Linked DNA regions of Homo sapiens: region 1 is linked to region 2. The links are contacts of gene promoters, found by promoter capture Hi-C in blood cells and fetal thymus (Javierre and others, 2016). All regions are on one chromosome and are shown on one strand. Each heading gives the region's core, a stretch centred on a gene start or on the middle of the fragment in contact. The rest is flanking DNA. Distances are from core to core; before and after follow the strand shown. Region 1 overlaps ROS1 (ROS proto-oncogene 1, receptor tyrosine kinase). Region 2 holds the start of NUS1 (NUS1 dehydrodolichyl diphosphate synthase subunit).

Evidence for each region. Contacts are between HindIII fragments. The CHiCAGO score rates a contact against its expected background, and 5 or more counts as called.
Region 1: a fragment that was not itself captured here is called in contact with the fragment with the promoter of NUS1 in region 2 in 1 of 17 cell types (endothelial precursors); the score reaches 5.9 in endothelial precursors.

What each region holds. Positions count from the first base shown.
Region 1 is chr6:117,339,515-117,346,100 of GRCh38, reverse strand. ROS1 (ROS proto-oncogene 1, receptor tyrosine kinase) reads left to right here. Exons shown (of 44, transcript NM_001378902.1): 28 at 1,839-2,041; 29 at 3,557-3,701; 30 at 4,469-4,701; 31 at 4,790-4,966. Among named protein-coding and RNA genes, the nearest start is that of VGLL2, 77 kb to the right of the region's middle. The HindIII fragment of the contact is 469 bases long and covers 1,755-2,223 here.
Region 2 is chr6:117,674,049-117,680,929 of GRCh38, reverse strand. It overlaps NUS1 (NUS1 dehydrodolichyl diphosphate synthase subunit), which reads right to left and starts at 5,461. Exons shown (of 5, transcript NM_138459.5): 1 at 4,845-5,461. The coding sequence starts at 5,259. LOC101927919 (a long non-coding RNA gene) reads left to right here and starts at 5,646. Exons shown (of 3, transcript NR_110854.1): 1 at 5,646-5,833; 2 at 6,095-6,283; 3 at 6,848-6,881. The HindIII fragment of the contact is 6,476 bases long and covers 2,282-6,881 here.

The sequences.
Region 1 (6,586 bases), core at 740-3,239, 330 kb after region 2:
TCAGATCAGAAATCAGTACAAACTGAATATATTGGATAAATATTGGTTGAACTGAAGAGTGGTTCATCTTGTAACTTTAGTAAGGTTATCCATCTCTAAACCCCCATACTTTCCAAATGTCCTCAAACTTAGGTTCACAGTGCCCTTGACACTGTTGTTGGAGATTTTCGATGTACTTCTAATTTTAAACATTTTTTCCTGCATTTTGGAATTCATATTTGGAATTCCCAGACCAGACCAGCATTATTTTCTCTAACTTTTCATTTTAGTCTCAGTAATGATGATAGTAATAGCTAACATTTATTTAATGTTCTTACCATGTGCTAGGGATAGAGTGATATATAAATATCTGTAAAGCAGGCCATTGTCTCTGTTTACAGAAGAGCTGGAGTAACCTTCCCAAGACAAAAAAGTTAGCAAGTGAAGGAGCTGGCTTCATCAAGTTTTTGTCACTTAGACATTTACCCCCTAATTTTCTTACTTGCTGAATGCAAAGGTTGTATTTTATATGTGGCTAATATGAATTCATAAGGATCGACAACACATACTAAATACCTAATATATGTCAGGCACCCTCCTGGGGCTCTGGTGGAACAAAGATAATTCAAGCACAGTCTCAGCCAAAGATAGTTACATTCTAGTGCTAGATGAAGAAAAGAAAGCAGCAAAAGAAAACCAAAACCAAAATCACATGTGGCTAGTGCACTGGTAGAAGAACACGTGAAGTGGAGTGAGGACAGAGAGGAGATGTCCTTCACCTGGAATAGGAAGGCAGAAAGGGCTTCCCAGGAAAAATGATGCATGAATTGAGGCTTAAGTAAGGTTAGGCAGATGGGGAAGATCATTCCAACCTGAAGAGACTACCTATGTGAAGGGTTGGAGGGGTAGAAGTCCTGCAGTGTGTAGATAGTGTACTGTGGTTAGAGTGAAGGATGGCTTTGCATAGCAGAGACTGGATATGCGGGCAGGAGCCAGATTGCACAGTGCCACGCACAATGAGTTAAAGAGTTGGCTAACTGGTGTAAGATTGTTAGATTTCATATTAAAATCATATTTGGAGTTATTTGCATATTATGTAATTATGCTACATTTTTAGGTGATGTTTTACATAAAGACTGAGAGTGAATAGGTCAAGAAGTTGTGTTCAGCTGCAAGTGACAGATCTGCGATTTTTCGAGGCTTAAGCCTGCGGTATGGTTGCGCTACTGCACTGGTCTAGAACAGACCATTTCCATTGTAGTCTCTGTGACTGGGGCTCCCTGGAGTTGTGCAGCGTGCAAGGTGTTTGGTTGTAAGCGGTGGCCAGGGAGCTCCACAATGCCATCAATCACCTGGACTTGATCTTTCCCCAAACATCCTTAGTGAGTCCTTTATTCAATTCTCACAAGATGGCTGCCGCCCCTCTTGCATAGTGTCCGCCTCCTGGGTTGGGGGAGGGTGAAGGACAGAGGTGCGCCACAGTGATAAGCACATCTGACTAACCAGACCGTGTCACATGATTGTCTGGGCTGCAATCAAACTTCAGAAACAGTTTTTCCTCCCAGCATACTGCCCTGAACAATATCAGATATATATGAACTTGAAGAAAAGGAGAGGACATTGGGTAGACTGTAGCAGTACATACTACACATACTACACACAGTATCAAGCTGCAGCCATTTTTGTTTCTTCAAAGAGAATATTATTTCAAATCATTTTCATATTTATGTTTTCAAGCAAAAGTTATGTATGCTCTACAAATTTCTTTCTAAGCTTTGATATTATTCTTGTTAAAAATCTGCTTTTCCTCTCATATATATAGTATAGATATTTAATCTTTTGGTTTCTTCTTATTTTAGATAAAGCGTTTCTGTCTCTAGCTTCAGACACTGTGGAACCAACTATACTTAATGCCACTAACACTAGCCTCACAATCAGATTACCTCTGGCCAAGACAAACCTCACATGGTATGGCATCACCAGCCCTACTCCAACATACCTGGTTTATTATGCAGAAGTTAATGACAGGAAAAACAGCTCTGACTTGAAATATAGAATTCTGGTAAGATTGGAACTAGTGGTCTTTGTCTTTTCACAAGATGTTCTTTTTTGATATAAAATTATGAGCCATAGTAAAGTATTTCCTATATGTTCTGAAATGGACTAGTACGCAACTTTTTTACAGCTAATGATTCATCAAAACATATTGTGTTCTAGTTTTCTTGACTGGGAGTAAGTTAAGCTTCAAGGAAGTATATCAACTCTTGCCCATTGATGGATTGCCATGGTAACCGTTTTCTGAGTGTCCAGAAAGAATTGGGTTTATTCCCCTCCCTGATTATCTAATTATCCTCAGAGAGAATGATAGAGAATTATTTTTGCAGCCTATGGAGCAGACTGAAGATTGAAGAGTAAGAAATGAACTGGACGGAAAGAACATTGCCTTATACCTCTTCTCCACAGCATTTATCTAATATAAAAATTGTACATTATATTTTGTCTTTTGTTTCCTATGTGCAGAGAAATATACTGCTATGCAGATACTGTTTTTAGTCATCATTGTATGCCTAGCACCTAGCACAGTTAGTGGCACTGTGTAGGCATTCACTAACTATTTCTTGAATGAATTGGCACTATTCATTCAATCATTGAAATGATGAAATGTATTCATTAGTATTTCAGTTGTCTTAGTGATGGAATCACATATATCCAATATTTTGCTTTGTGCTTGGCTTTATTTAGCCTGTTCAAAAGGTGAAATTGACTAACTGTTGGATGTTAAACACTATATGTTTTCCCATAAAGTGTATGTGATTTTTCATTCCTTCCTTAATTTTGTCTAATTAACCCTTTTTACACATTTCTAAAATAAGTAATTTCAGATAGATCATTTGGCTGGCCAAGATTGGACTTGGCAGCACTGGTCATGTCTGTTATTAAATTTAATCTATCTTATTGTCTTCTCATTGATTAACAGTGGTCTAAGACAGTGGTTCTCAACCTTGGCGGCACATCGAAGCTTTAAAAAAAAAAAACAAAACACTCTGCATCTAGGCTTCACCCCAGATAACTCAATCAGAATCTCTGGCAATAGAACCCAGGCATAGTAGTTTCTTAAAACTTCCCAGATGATAGCAAAGTATAAACAAAGTTGAGAACCATTGGTCTAAGGAAAGTCTTTTTACTCTCTTAAACTTTATTTCTAAGAGTGATTAGATACTATAAAAATATTTTATTGTATTCACATATGTGTCACATGTTTTCTACCATCTTGCTGAATTTCTAATACAATGTTAATGAAATAGTGTCCTCTTCTAGGAATTTAACTTCCCATGTGAAACAATTTATGCCACAAAACCAACTGAAGGCTACCAATCATTTGGTATTTATTCTTGGAAACATTGAACAACTCAGGTCTGGGTAGATTGGACAGTGGTATTACCATTAATAATCCAGAATTTAAAATAAATTAATTTTTTTGAGCCTTTAACTTTGTTCTCTCTTTGATTAAATAATTTCTACCAATTTGTATAAAATGTTAAAAATAAGATGTTGATTTTTAAAAAATCAATTACAGGAATTTCAGGACAGTATAGCTCTTATTGAAGATTTACAACCATTTTCAACATACATGATACAGATAGCTGTAAAAAATTATTATTCAGATCCTTTGGAACATTTACCACCAGGAAAAGAGATTTGGGGAAAAACTAAAAATGGAGGTAAGTTATGGGCTTGTTGTGGGTTTCTCAAGCAGAATATTGTGATATATGTGCTGTGTATGTTGATGTTTATTTTTTAAAATCTGAATGCGAAGTAATTTTAGTAAGCTTTTTTAAGTTTAATAAGAAAAATGTGTTTGTAGAAAACTTTGACCTGACCCTTACTCTAACCCCTGAAGCTAACTAATAATATTCTATTAAAATAGAAAGCAACTAGGAGGTAAAACATTGAAATCAATATTGTTTGACCAAGAAACACATTATTTGGTCTCACCACACAGTGTCACTTTTTCCAGATACTCATAGGTTTCTGTACATGTGGTGAGCTATAGAAAAACCAAGCTTTTTTTCTATGTGAATTTTACTGAGGCCTGAGCTGTAAAGTTATGCAACAGTATAGCCTTAAAGAAAATAGGTCTGAAAAGGTTTTCTAAGAGCTGATGAGGTGGTGATTATTATGAGGTGATGACGTTTATTTCAGATGTCTCTGATGATATTCACAAAACTCACCCAAATTGGGTTATTCCCCGTTGGCCATATCCTTGAGCTGGAGTCAGAGAATGATTTGGTCACTGGGCAAAAATAAGTGGGAGCCTTTTAGGCAGTCTGTTAACCTACGATTATAGAAGAGGCTGACTTTCTTTCTGGACATGTGTTATTTATTCTGCTCATACCACATGATTACTCTTCAACCCAAACTCCATTACTTCTTTCCATCTTTCAGTGCTATTGCAGCATCCTTTATCATTCCTTGCTATTTATTTCAGTACCAGAGGCAGTGCAGCTCATTAATACAACTGTGCGGTCAGACACCAGCCTCATTATATCTTGGAGAGAATCTCACAAGCCAAATGGACCTAAAGAATCAGTCCGTTATCAGTTGGCAATCTCACACCTGGCCCTAATTCCTGAAACTCCTCTAAGACAAAGTGAATTTCCAAATGGAAGGCTCACTCTCCTTGTTACTAGACTGTCTGGTGGAAATATTTATGTGTTAAAGGTACAGTGAGTTTACTAGGCACTCTTTATTGTCATTCTCAAGTGCAAGGCTCTCAAAAGGTTAAGCAATTGTTCTTTTTTACCAAAAGGTTCTTGCCTGCCACTCTGAGGAAATGTGGTGTACAGAGAGTCATCCTGTCACTGTGGAAATGTTTAACACACCAGAGAAACCTTATTCCTTGGTTCCAGAGAACACTAGTTTGCAATTTAATTGGAAGGCTCCATTGAATGTTAACCTCATCAGATTTTGGGTTGAGCTACAGAAGGTAGACTTTTAATGCAAGTCTTTATTTTATGATATAGAATAAATTGGAAAGGGCTTTTTCATGCATCTAGAACATGCTCATGTATAAATAAACAATATATTTGACAACTTTCATTGATTTATGTTTGGCATGCAGAAGCAGTGAGTTATCCAGACTAATTTCTGGTGGGAAGAATTCTCAGGGAGATTAATTTGCTTTTAAAAGGCTTTATGTAAAAGGGTATAAGTTATAGTGTACTAATTTTATAATATTTTACTTAGTTTAGATGTTAGCATGGTTCTCTGGTTTAAAGTCCATAGTAACTTGGTGTTTTCCATGAAAAAAAAATGAAAAAGAACTGAAGAAAGAAAAAACCAAAACCTTGTTTAGAAATGTTCTTTCATCATTTTAAGGGCTGTGCAGTAACAAGAGAGAAGTAAACCATAAAACCAGCTTATTCTAAAGTAGTTTTGTTGTTGGCTTGCAAACTTTAAATGATTCCTCATCCAAAACTTTTCACGCTTTAACCAATAAGGAAGCACCCACTGAATTTTAAGTCATCAATTAACCTGATTAATTCATTGATGGGGAAAGCCTACATTGACTTTTATGGTGATAAACTCAAAATTGATTATTAATTTTTTATAATTGCTACTTGTTATTTTAACTATTATATATGTGCATGTGCATGTTTGTATATTTCTGGGCCTATGTATGTGTACGTGTTTTTAAAGATTAATTAGAAATGTTTTGTTCAGTGGTAACTCAAAAGCAAATCAGTATAATCATGGCCTCACTACTTCTTAAAATGCAGTTATTCCCCAGGATGTTTAAAATTATTATGTAAGGTATTTTTGTGATCTTATACTTTATAGATAAAAACTATGAAAACTGTGGAACAACACTGAATATTGAGTTGATAAACTCAAAGACCATAGTTTCATTGGACTTTTTCTGTTGAGCATGTTTCTGATAATTTGTTGTCTATTTAAAAAATTGCCACCTTATAAAAATGCAGTTAAATTGGAGAAATTGGAGGAGTGCCTTTTAAAATAACATCTATTTTAGTAAACTTAATGCAGTTCAGTCTAAAACCAAGAGGAAGGATGTAAAGTTCATTTCCAAGATTATCAAAGAAATGAAATGGGAAAAGACTTCAGAGATAATTGACACCCTAGCCTCTCATTTTATTGATCAGAAATGGAGATCTAGACAGATGCCAGATGTCACCAGGCAGAGAAAAACCCCAGGGCTGACTTCTCCCTACAGCAGTCCTATTAGGGTGCTGTCCGTGGAAGGAATAGGAGTCATTAAGTCATCCATCCCACTCTTTCAAGTTTGGGGAGAAGGACAGCAGACAGAGATCTCCTGGTTGAATTCTCATGACTTTCATGCAGTGCTTTTTGTTTCTAAACTTCCTCTGTTTTCACATTTGCTCAACACAGGTTCCAGGCAGACCATTTAGAAAATCATGAAGCTGCAAATACAAGATAGAGTCATTTGTACATGAGTGGCCATCTACAAATACTAACTATGAGTACAGTAAAAGTCTGTGGTTCTGCAAGGGTTGATGAGTGCTATATAGTCAGAAAGTGCTGTCTCTTTTGAACAACTTGAGCCTATCTCACAATGACAGGACAG
Region 2 (6,881 bases), core at 4,212-6,711:
ACCTGTACCCAAAAACCATTTCAAAAGCAACCTAGCTTCGATTTAAATAAACTAAGGAAATAGCACTAGAAAGAGCAGCACACAAAAAAAATTTGTTGTCTTACTGTTGAATTCTCACACAGAAGGCAATGCCTTATTCTGGATCATTCCAATTTACAGCAAATAATCCTAAGGCTTACCCCAAATTATCCTCAATCATGAAAAGGAACATGAAATATAAATAATCTAATGTAAGGCAAGTAGCAGAGTATCCTTTGATCTGTGTTAGGGTTAAACTTCAGTGTGCAGAAGTATCATACAGGTAGCTTGATAAAAACAGAGACGCCCAGGTCCCAGTTCCCTCATTAAGTTTGATTACTAAGTGTGTTGAATCTGCATTTTTTATAAGCATCCCCAATGACTAATTCACAGATGGTCCACAGACAGGTTTTGAAAAATACCAATCAACAGCAAGGTTCCCAGCAAGGCACAATAAAGCCAGGAAATAAGAACAAGTTCCATCACTTAAGATAACAATACATATCCAGATAACTTGGAGCCAAGTGTACCTGCATGTGAGACACAGGCAAACAACACTGCTAAGGCTAGAACAATAAAATCCATTTACCCCAACCCCTGGTTCTTGTACCATCCCAGTTATGGTCATTTCTTAAATTATAATCATATAGACAGAACAGCCAAATCTCGCTAGAATTCTGAACTCAAAAAATTCCTGATCACTGTCCTGAGAGAACAACCTGAATTTTTGAAAGATGAAAGAATTACTTGCAGACTCTATTATAATCAAGAAATATTGCAGGTAGTGAAAAACAAAAAGATCAGTTTGCTGGCAGTCAAATTAAGGTCAATATAATAGATCTTTTAGTCTAAGGATTAAATGTTGTTATCTAGATCCAACCATAATTAGAACGAATTTAAGTACAAATTTGAGAGCAAAGGGGTGTAGGACAGAATAAAATGTAAGGTGGTAAGCTTGTCTTCAAAGTGGCTGCCCGTCCATCTCCCTTCAAATCCTCACCCAACCTTTCTACACAAGCCATTTTCTCATTGAGAGGTGAAGTCCATTTCTCCACTTTCTTGATGCAGAACAGATGTGAGACTTCTCTGACCAAGAGAACATAGCAAAAATAACACTGCATGATTTCCTAGGTTAGGTCCTAAGACATCTTTCAGCTTCAGCCTTTGGCCAAGTCTCTGGAAACATTTGTTCTGGGGGAAGTTAGTTAACTGGTTACCCTGAAGTCAACCTCCAGACCATGTGAAGCCAGATGACCAACCTGCCCCATCTATTTCAGCCATCAAAAACCAGGCACCAGACATAAGGAGAAACCTTTGGGTCCCAGACTCTATCTGAATGAAAGCTATGAGTGACCCAAAGGAAAAACTGCCCAACTGAACTAAGTCAATATATAAATTGTTGTTTTAAAACACTATGCTTTGGGTAGATTTCTACAAAGCAGTAGGTAACCAGAATAGCTGTCCAAGCCTTCATCCTACCTCATTTCCCAACTGTTCATTACATAAATTCACTGCTCCCAACACTCTACTCAATGCTATTACTGAACCTAGTCTAATGAGAATGCTGCCATTAGGGAAATCCCCATTCACACACACAGAGAACACTGTTCACGCCAATCCCAATTCTATCTTTTTGACTAGGTCCAGCTCAGGTGTTGCTCCCTTCCTTACCAGACAAATATGGAGGTAACCCGGGAAATTTTCCATTTTTCGCTCCTTAAAGTATCTGCCATTCACTTAGCATTTCTATATTAGCTTGTGTTAATTTTTAATGGACATCCTTACTTGAGTGGAAACTCTTTAAGAGACACCATTTCTTGTACTTCTTGTATCCCAGTGGCATTTACGAGTATGTCAATAGGATTTTTCATAGTTAAATATCTATCTAGAAATAAGCTTAAATAGACATTTATTTAGAAACACTGAATATGGCCGGGCGCAGTGGCTCACACCTGTAATCCCAGCACTTTGGGAGGCTGAGGCAGGCAGATCACCTGAGGTCAGGAGTTTGAGACCAGCCTGGCCAATATGGCAAAACCCTGTCTCTACTGAAAATACAAAAATTAGCAGGGCGGGGTGGCGCGCATCACCTGTAGTCCCAGCTACTTGGGGAGGCTGAGACAGGAGAACTTGAATCTGGGAGACGGAGGTTGCAGTGAGCCTAGATTACACCACTGCACTCCAGCCTGGGTGACAGAGCGAGACTCCGTCTCAAAAAAAAAAAAAAAAAAAAACCACTGAAAAAGAAACACTAAATAAAGCTTACATGTCTATACTCCCTCTGAGTGATTCTTACATATCCACATGGCCTATATTTTCAAGTCTATATTCAAAGAGCCTCTCCTTGGCCTCCCTATTTAAAACTGTACCCCTTCCTACACCACTGACTTTCAACATTCCTATCTTCCCTTCTCTGCTTTACTTTTCCTCATTGCACTTACATTACCACATATTTACCCACGTATATTATTTGTCAGACTCCCACTGAAATCTAAGTTCCATGAGTACACTGCTGCATTCCCATGTCTGGAAGAGTATCTGGTACTTAACAGACCCCAACTGTCACCTGTAAATGAATGTATGAACGAATCAAAACCAAGAATGGACTAATTGAAGGTCTCTTATTTCAGGAATATTTCTTATTCTTTTAAAAAAAACAAACAAAAAAACTGATTTTACAGTTAAGATACAAAATCCTGTAAGCCCTTTCACTGAAAATGCTCCTTAAGGTGCCTTTCAGTTCTCAGCCAAAACTTGGCTTAGCTTACTTCTTCCTTTTAATTACTAATCATTTTTCTTTTAGCAACTATGACACAGGATACTTCTGAATCACATCAGCAATTTAAACACAGGACTTGCAGAAACAAGGAAATGTGGCAACATTATAGTCTGTACTAGTAGGCACGGTCATCAAGTCAAACAATTTAGCTATACATTTTCCTTCCCTACTGGAAGATAAAGATACTTGCTTTAAAAGAATCACCTGGCTGTACATCAATCCACCACGTTGCTTAATGCCTTTATGTCCACTTTTGCTTCACCTATTTTTTTCCCCAAGCAAAACTGGTTGCATTGGTTTAGGCATGGATTGTGTCATCTCCTAACAGTCTCATGATTTCTATTGGTCTGCTGAGTTCTTTAGCAAGTTCCATAAATGTCAGTCTCTGAATATATCAAACTTTACCCTATAGGGCAAATCATCATTTGGTGATGACAGGCTACTGCGTCATCATGTTCCTTGCGGGCTGCAGGAAAGATGATAGGGCAATCAGAGATCAGCCTGTAAGCGTTACTGTCTGGCCTATGCCTTCCCTTTCTGACAAAACCCTGCACTTAAATTTACCAATCTGACAAAGATGTATGCCTCTCTAGAGCACACAGGTAATTTATTGAACAGAGAATAAAACTTTTGTTTTCTTCCCTTCATACCAATACTCTTAAATCATTCTTCTCACATCTTTAAAGAAATTCCAATGCTTTCAAGATCTGATTGAAAATCAAACCTGACATCCCAAACCTGAGTATTCCTCAACTTATCTCCTACCTATTCTTCAAGGTCCTGCTTAAATCCCACCTCCACTGCATGAACTTCTCAAGTTCCTTCATTCACAATTTCTCTCCTCTCTTCTCACAATAGTAATTTTACTCTCAACACTTCTTGTTATTAACCATGTCAAATATGTGAGTGTGTGCCTACCTCCTAACAAGCCTGAGAGTCCATGGAATTAAATGCAAGATTCCAAGGAATATGCCTAGCACAGTGCTTTAGGTTTGTAGCTACCCAATAAGTACTGAATTTTTGTACTTACAAAAACTCCCTATGGTGAAATTCATTCCCTCAATCAAAACATATGAGAGGACAATTCTATCAAGTACTGTGTTGGGCACTGATGATGAAGGATCACAAACCATCCCAGCCTTCCAAGACAGAAAGGGACCATTTTCTTTTCTGCCTATCCAATCTCTCACATATTTTTCATAAACCCAGTTCAAATACCACCTGACCCCCACCGCTCCCATTTGCAGTACCTATCACACAGCCCATGCCTAAGTCCTCTATAGCCTCACTGCGACTTAAGAACAGCGCCTGGAAGCTCTCTTAAAGAAACAGTGTGGTGTAACCAAAGGCAAAGATTGTGAAAAAGCACAGAATGGCTAAAATTCCAATATCCTCATTCCGATCTTTGTGGCCCCATTACGATCTTGTGGCCTTGGGCAAATCAGTTAATGTTTTTAAACCTTGGCAAGGGTATACAAATACCATCTACATTACTGCAGTATTATAACGAATAAGAGATTTTTTATTTATTTTTATTTATTTATTTACTTATTTGAGACAGAGTTTCGCTCTTGTTGCCCAGGCTGGAGTGCAGTGGCGCGATCTCGGCTCACCACAACCTCCGCCTCCCGGGTTCCAGCGATTCTCCTGCCTCAGCCTCCCTAGTAGCTGGGATTACAGGCATATGCCACCACGCCCGACTAAACTTGTATTTTTAGTAGAAACGGGGTTTCTCCATGTTAGTCAGGCTGGTCTCGAACTCCCGACCTCAGGTGATCCGTCCGCCTCGGCCTCCCAAAGTGCTGGGATTACAGGCATGAGCCACCGCGCCCGGCCAAGGGATATTTTTAAAATGTTAAAAAGCTACTGAGTCAAATCCAGAGAATTAGTAGGTGTTCAATAAAGCTGATCTCCCTTCCTCGAAAGCGCTAGCGCTGTGATTTGCAGAGAGGCCGCGGCAACTCGTGCCATGGGCACCACCCGCCAGACCAGCGGTCTAGCGGTCCAAGACGCCTCGGCCACCCCCCACCACCGCACCGGGCCTCACCTTGGTGGTCGTAGACGCTAATGTAGGAGATGCCCACGGCCATACACCACACCACGAGGCTCGCGATGTCCGAGAAGCTGGGTTCCTGCTCCACCTCGGTGATCACCAGGCCCATATGCACAGGCAGCTTCTCCAAGGAACGACCGTCCGCGCGCCAGCGCATCCGGTGGTGTGCGGCTGCCAGGCACGACCCCCCGCGCGGGTGCCGGTGGTGACGGCGGTTCCTGCCGACTGCCGGGGGCTTGCGGAGCGTGAAGCCGAGCGGCGCTAGGACCGCGGCAGAGGCGGCGCGGCAGCAGCGCCGCCAGATCCAGTTCCAGGTGCCGAACCGAACGCGGAGCCAGGAGGTGAGCGTGCGGTGCAGACAGAGCAGCGCGTGCAGCACCCGCCACACCAGCTCGTACAGCCCCGTCATACTCTTGTGGCCCTCAGACACCCCCTCTCCCTCCCGCCCACTCCCGCAGCGCGACGGCTTTTTATCCGCCCCTGCGGCCGGCGCGGGCCATCGCTCCGCGTCCCCCCGCCCCCCGAGCCCGAACCCCTTTCCACTGCCAACACCTCACCTCGCCCCCGCCGCCATCTTCCTCCTCCCTTGGCAGCCCCGCCCCCAGTAGTACATGGACAGTTCCGATTGGCCAGCGTGGAATTCTGACGCGGCTTCTGGGTCCGAGAACGTGGCCCGTTCCGGCGCAGTGAGGGAAGGCGCACGCCTGCGAACTAGCCGGGCCGATACCGCGGGCGCCCCCTGGTCGCGTGGAGGGCGATGAGCGAACGACCCGGGACTTGTCTGAATGGGACCCCAGCAAGGCACACGTGGTCTTCAATGCGATGGGCGCTTCCAGGGGACCCGGCGTCCCTTGGGTCCAGGAAGTCTTATACTGTCTCCTCTCACGGCCCCGACAGAAACGGTTTCTGAGGAGTAGAAGTGTCCTAAGTGGATTGGAAATTACAAATGCCGGAAAGAACCTAGGGATGGAAAGCAGCCCTCAGTAAGTGTTGATGCTGGGAATCCACCAGGGTTTCCAAAAGTGTCCTCAAAGGCTGGAGTGATCCTGCTACTGTCCTTTATTCAGCCTCCCGGCTGAGGCTGGGAGCGAGGCTCTTTAGCCATGTTCCTGAAACACCCCTCTACCCATGTCATTCTCATCTAAGGTATCCTTTCCTGGCTGTACATTGCTTAATAGAGGCTCTACAGCTTGGCAGTCCAGTCACTTAATTCTTTTTTTTTTTTTTTTTTTTTATTCGGCAAGACTTTGACCAACCGCCGTGGGTTAGGTTTACAGTGGGGAAAAAAAATAGAAATTGTGCCTGACTTCAATGACCGCCACTATTTGAAGCAAACTGCCCATCCAAGCCTTATCATCCCCTTTAACACCCTAATGTTTCTGTCCATGTGGACTTCGACGTGGTCCTCTAGAATGGTTTTGTACTTCCCCGCGGTAAGTCTGTACTGTCTTTGCCCTTTTTGTTCAAGCTCTTCTCCTGAATTCCTGATTCCCGACTTGGTATTGCCGACATTCCAACCCATTTCTCAAGGTTTATCCTACATGCTACATCCTCTATCATCATATATATGTGTGTGTGCAACAATAATATTTATATTATTTGCATTTATATTTATATAAGTATATATATAAAGATTAGGGAGGTATTACAAAAATGCAACTGTACACATACACACGTATACACACATATTTACACACGTGTGTGTGTGTAAACAGTTGCGTTTTTGTAATACCTACCTATTCTTTGTTCGCTAAAGCCTCTTTTTCCCCCTGGGAAACATCTGTTCACGTCTTGGCTATGTGACTTAATTTTTCTAACATTGTCACTTTTTCAACTAGTCTCATTTTGGTTTCTAAGACTCATTTAACTTTACTTTAAAAGTTGAATCTCATGTCCATCTCCCTTTCGCAGTGCAATTTTCCTCCCTTTGGCAGTGCAGCCTGAAGAACTGAGGGCTGGGCACCAGGCACACCCTTCACACACTTCTTTCTCTCCAGGTCTCCTCTGCGGTAGCTCCTCTGATGATGGACA